Regions from separate parts of the Homo sapiens genome. Here region 2 is linked to region 1. The links are contacts of gene promoters, found by promoter capture Hi-C in blood cells and fetal thymus (Javierre and others, 2016). All regions are on one chromosome and are shown on one strand. Each heading gives the region's core, a stretch centred on a gene start or on the middle of the fragment in contact. The rest is flanking DNA. Distances are from core to core; before and after follow the strand shown.

Region 1 (2,700 bases), core at 163-2,662:
TCCATAATTCCACAATAACACAAACTGCCTGCTTAAAGAAAGGAAGGAAGAAAAGAAAAAGAAAGAAAAGAAATAAAGAGAAAGGCAAGTTAATGCTTTGGAGTCATTACTCTTCCACCTAGGCATGGGGGGAGGGGGATGGTACAAAAACAATGGATATTGAGGTGCTGGGGGAAAAATCGTCTTGCCCCAAAGCCTCTTGTGTTATGAGCCTGGGGAAGTCGGGGAAGAGTGAGACTACTTTTCCTCTCTCCCTAAAAGCTGTGCTATCACGGGGAGAGGTTGCCATCGGGCATGTTCTACGAGGCGGTCTCGAAGGGCTACAACTCGCTTCGCTAGGCAACACACCCAGAGCCGATCCAGCACTCTTCACTCAAGGGTTTTTAGGGAGAGGAGAACGGGAGAGCAAGGTGGACTCCAGGGAGGGGGCGAGAAGAGACCCCACCCTGTATGACCGCCGCTGCGCCCGGGCCCTCGCCAACGATTTACACGACTCGGGGCGCCCTGCGGACTGGGCCCGGGGGCCCAGGGAGCCGAGAGGAGAGAGACTGTCCGCCGGGGGCCCCCGGCCCGCGCCCTCGCGCCGGCTCGCCGTCGCCCAGGCGCTGTCCGGGCCGCCCGCCGCCGCCGCCGCAGGCCCGGCCCCGGCCGCTGTCACACCCGACCGCCTTCCTCTCCGCGCCGGGCTGCAGGCTCCCACGCGAGCCGGCTCCAAGGGCCCCGCACTCCCGGAGACAGCAACCAGGAAAGCGGCGGCGGCGGCGCCTCCCAGGGCCCCGGCCCCTCGGGCCTCGCCCCGGCGCTGCCGGCTCGCGCCTGTCAGGGCGCACGGGGCCTCCCCCTACCGACAGCCAGCCCGACTGCCCGACGGACAGGAAGGCAGGCAGGAAGAACCGACCAACAGACACCCTCCGCCTCATCGGCCCCGAGTTACCGTCAGGAGCCCCGACTCCGCCATCCTCCTCGCTCGCCCTCCTTCCTCCTCTTCCTCCTCCTCCTAAGAAGCGACGCTGCCCAACCGCCGCCCCCCGCCCGCCCCTCCCCCACTCGCCCCGCCCCGCCCGCCCCGCCACTACTCTCGCTCCAGCCTCCCCGCCCCACCCCTCTGCCGTGGGCCCGTCACTCGCTAGGCAAGAAAAATGGGCGGAACCGGGGCAAGAGAAGCTGCCCAATCAGAGACGGGCAGTGCCGCCAGCTTCTCTCTCTCCGCCCTTGTCCTTTCCTCAGTTCCTCTACGCCGTCTCCCGCCCACTGGGCGCCTCTGGCTAGCCGGGCTACAGAGTAAGCCTCCAGCAGGGTAGAGTGACAACTCCCCGATCGGAAGTTACTGTTGAAGCTAAGGCGGCCATAACTGATAATGGCAAAAGGAGATTCCTGGCTTCCTGTTTCCAGGGTGACGTAGATTTTTTTCCTTCGCCAGTCTCACCGTTACCCGGGGCAACAGCTGAGCCGTCTGGGAAGGGATGCATCTGTAAGTAAGCCCAAAGAGGTACCGTGGGTGACCACACATCCCATGTTAGACAAGTTAATTCATACTCCGGATTACACGTCCAGTTTCCTGGCCCTTATTTTACTGAGACGTCTGGTCACTTACGGAGATGGACAACAGTTTAGGGCTCCGAAATTCCCTCTCCTGCCCGGAAGTTGCATTTGGCACTTCCGAATTGGGTCATGGCGGAAGGGTGTTAATAGCCTGGCCGCCCGTGCCCCAGGGAATGCTTATTTTTGACCTTAGTTGCAAAGTGAGGTGAGTCCGTGGACCCCAACCAGTGGGCCGGACCCGGGCCGGACGGTCCCTGTGGGACAGAGCGCTGAAATGGCGAGCGGGGCTCAGGGCCGCTTCCGTTGGAAGGCGGTTTTTTTCCGGGCTGGCCTGGCGGCGGCCCGCCCCCGTGAGGCTCCCTGTGGGGTGAGGCCGCTCTACAGGCCGCCCTAACCCAGCCAGAGGCAGCCCGGCCGGGAGGACCCCAGCGGGGAATGGGCGGGGACCTCGGGGCGGAGCTCCTAACTCCGGCAAAACGGAGCTCTTGACCACGCCTCCGCAAGTTCCTATTAAGTACTTTCACTCCTTGGCCTTTGGAGGGAGGAGAATTCGGGAACTTCAGAAAATCATTTTCCACCTTCACCTATAAAAGGAAAAGATGAGCCCCTACCACCAGGGCAGGACCTCAATCTTTTTCCCCTGCCACCTGCCTTCCCATTCTGATTTTTCCCCCCTTTCCGCGTCTCTCCTTTGAGTCTTTGTAAGCTTTGACTGCGGTTCTGGTGGTGGGATTCCTGCAGGTCTACAGTTTCTTAAACAACGTGTTGAAGATTTTTGAAAATACTGTATTGCTTTTATATGGCCCTTTACAAAGTTATCATACATTATCTTGTAGTTTCTTCTGTATGCTTGAGTCAAGAACTCTAAGTCATCTTGGTAATACCGGGTTGGATGCTTAAAGCTGCAGCAAAAAGACCAGAACTTTCAGGTAAAATTGAAAATGGTTAATATCCAGCCAGTCAACAATACAGATGCAAACCTACCTTCTCGACTTAATTTCTGCTTCCTTAGTACTTACACGCCAGCCAAAATGAACTACTCTTGTTTCTTTGCTGTTAATTACTGAAATCTGTTGTAGCAGTCACCTTTTGTGATTCTGTATCTGATTCTGTTACCCGTGGAGATGTGTTTCCAGATTCTTCCCAGCAGGAAGTAAT
Region 2 (2,700 bases), core at 10-2,509, about 27 Mb after region 1:
TGAAATACACAGATGGTCAAAAGACCTGGACTGTAATCCCCGCCATCCCTTTCTACCTGCGTGACTTTGCGCCTCAAAATAAAGTTGTAGGACCAATGAAGCAGCAATCTTTATTGGTCATGCCCTTTTTATTCCTGTATCATAAAATGGATTTTTTTTAACATAACTGGGGTTTCATTCCTAACCAGCCTACAATCCCAGCACTTTGGGAGGCCGAGGTGGGCGGATCACGAGGTCAGGAGTTTGAGACCAGTCTGGCCAACATACTGAAACCCGTCTCTACTAAAAAAAAATTAGCCAGGTGTGGTGGTGTGTGCCTATAATTCCAGCTACTCAGGAGGCTGAGGCAAGAGAATCGCATGAACCCAGGAAGCAGAAGTTGCAGTGAGCCGAGATGAGGCCATTGCACTCCAGCCCAGGCCACAGTGCAAGACTCTGTCTCAAAAAACACAAAAGAAACCCCAAAACCTGGTGGAGACAGACACATAAACAAATCATTAACTACCAGTTGACAAATACTAACTGGAGAGTGTACGAATCAGTTAAGACAAGAGGGATGAAATGTCTAGACAAGCCTCAGAAGTGCTACTTTCGTAAGGTCTTCAAGGGCAAGTTGTTTACTAGGTAGAGAATTCTCAACAAAGAACACTGAAAAACCACAGAGGAAGATGTCATCTTCAGAGAACTGCAACAGTCTTATATAGAGAGGGCAGGCATAATGGTAGAAGATGACACTAGAATGGAGACAAATACCGCTAATCATGAAGGACTTTGAATTTTATCGATATAGACTATGGAGAGTCACTGAAGGACTTGTAAATATGGATTCAAAGTCCCTTCCTCCAAAATAGTCAAAGGAGTTGAGTCAAAGCAACAAAAAATGCAGGTCTGAATGTGGAAAGGTAGAATTTTTACAGAATTCTTAATAGAGACTTTCGGCTTGCTTTCAGGATGGCTTCTAGTGCTTTCTTAACTATGGCTTATGCTGAAGTACGACAGTATGAATTATGGCTAAAGGGTTCAACAAAGTGTGCATTTTTAACCTGAAGATTATTTGAAGCCAATGTTGTTTAGAACACAAACGAAAACAAAAAATAACAGTAACAAGCTTTCATAAATTAAGAGAAACAGTAATAAAGTCCAAGAGGAAGAAGACTGATTTCAGGCAAACACTCAGGAATATTTACATTTTTATCACATATGGATGACGGATAAGACATGTTTTGAACCCATCTTTTGCAGGAGAGCATCTTAAGTTCCTTTTGGTTAAAGAGCAGCTGCCATCTCTAAAGTCTCTAGTCTAAAAGATGATGCTTTAAAAAAAACAACTGGCCAAATGAATAGGTTCCGTCATATTTTAATGCTCAGGAGAAAAGGAATGCTTTTCATATGGCTATTTTAAAAAGCTTAAAGCTCAATTTCTCTCTTACAGGAGTGAGCTACCAACACTCTAATCTGAGACCAGAGTCCCTGCGTCAGTCATTTCCACTCCGCTAAGGCCTTGTCTGGGAGCAGCCAGCCTCATTGGTCGGGGAGCCCACACAGATGAATATGCAATTACTGAAATGGAAACAAGCTTCGCCACCAAGGACCACCACAAAGGAGTCCCTTCATTCCTCCTTTTACTTTATCAAGAAAGTAGGTGCATTATTTAAAAATGTATGAAAATACATGTCTAAAGACAAGAGAGAAGATCTGAACCTACGGCAACGGTGTGCCCCACCAAAGTTTCACCTCAGGATGTGTTTTAGGGTGTGTCTTTCATTTAGCCCAGTAATTGAAAGAAAAAAAAAATCGAACTCATTCGGGGAGCCCCGGTACTTTCCCTATCCACCCTCACACGCAACCAGGCTCCGAAATCAGAGTGCCTCAGCCTCGCCCTGATTTCTCCTGAAAGGCGGCGGCGCCCGCGGCCCGAGGCCCCGCGCTGTCACAGCCGCAGGGAGGGCGCCCTCCGGCCTCCCGGGTCCGCGCCCGCCCCGCGTCCGGCGGCTCGCGAGGGGCTAGAGAGGCTCACCCTGGAGGCCGGGTACGGGAGGGCGACACCGCCTCAGCCCGGGAGTTCGGGCCTCCGCCCCGCCCCGGACTGCGTGCCTGGTCTTGGGCTGCCCCCGGCGCCCGCCGCGACCCCGGCCCCGGCTCTGGCCCTGAGCCCGGATCTCACCGTGCGGAGGTCGCGCTGCCTCCTCGGCCGCGGCCCAGCTGCAGGCCGCCCTGCGACCTGCGGGCCCGAGGACGGAAGGTGAGACGAAGGGCCGCCCGTCACATCCCCGCCAGCCCCGCCGCCCGAGCCGCAGCAACCAGCATCGCGTCCGCGGCCTGAGGGAGCGCCGGACTCCAAAGCCGCCGCGCCCCCTCCCTCGGCCGGCGCCCGCCCGGACTCCGCCCTCCAGGGCCGGCGCACCGCGCACGCGCAGTCCCGCCCCGCCGCGGGCCCGTGCGCAGGCGCGAGCCTCACGGGGCTACGGGGACCGCCCCCACCGCCTGATCCGGCCTCAGCCCACCTCTGGCCCCGCCCCGCCCTCACGCCAGGCTTTCCCAAGCTCCGCCTCCGCTTCGGGCCCCGCCCCCTCCACTGACCTTGCCTGGCCGCCTCCTGACTCAGGTTTTTGCTGGGCCCACGCAGTGACGCCAGTCTTGCGGCTGACCTCACCTCTAGCCGTCCCCTGGACTACATTTGCTGCTTGAGTGCGGTCAAAC

What was found. The method cuts DNA at HindIII sites, captures the fragments that hold promoters and counts their contacts. A CHiCAGO score of 5 or more calls a contact.
Region 2: a contact is called between a fragment that was not itself captured here and the fragment with the promoter of BBIP1 in region 1, in 1 of 17 cell types (fetal thymus). The highest score is 7.0, in fetal thymus.

Annotation. Positions count from the first base shown.
Region 1 is chr10:110,917,892-110,920,591 of GRCh38, reverse strand. BBIP1 (BBSome interacting protein 1) reads left to right here and starts at 1,412. Exons shown (of 4, transcript NM_001195305.3): 1 at 1,412-1,471; 2 at 2,379-2,471. The coding sequence starts at 2,435. It overlaps SHOC2 (SHOC2 leucine rich repeat scaffold protein), which reads right to left and starts at 988. Exons shown (of 9, transcript NM_007373.4): 1 at 935-988. RefSeq lists silencers at 529-618, 629-1,068, 1,919-2,078 and enhancers at 1,289-1,338, 1,359-1,558, 1,248-1,787. The HindIII fragment of the contact is 2,602 bases long and covers 1-2,250 here.
Region 2 is chr10:84,328,273-84,330,972 of GRCh38, reverse strand. It overlaps CCSER2 (coiled-coil serine rich protein 2), which reads right to left and starts at 2,384. Exons shown (of 10, transcript NM_001284240.2): 1 at 2,165-2,384. RefSeq lists enhancers at 364-443, 1,491-1,840 and a silencer at 1,891-2,620. The HindIII fragment of the contact is 298 bases long and covers 1,111-1,408 here.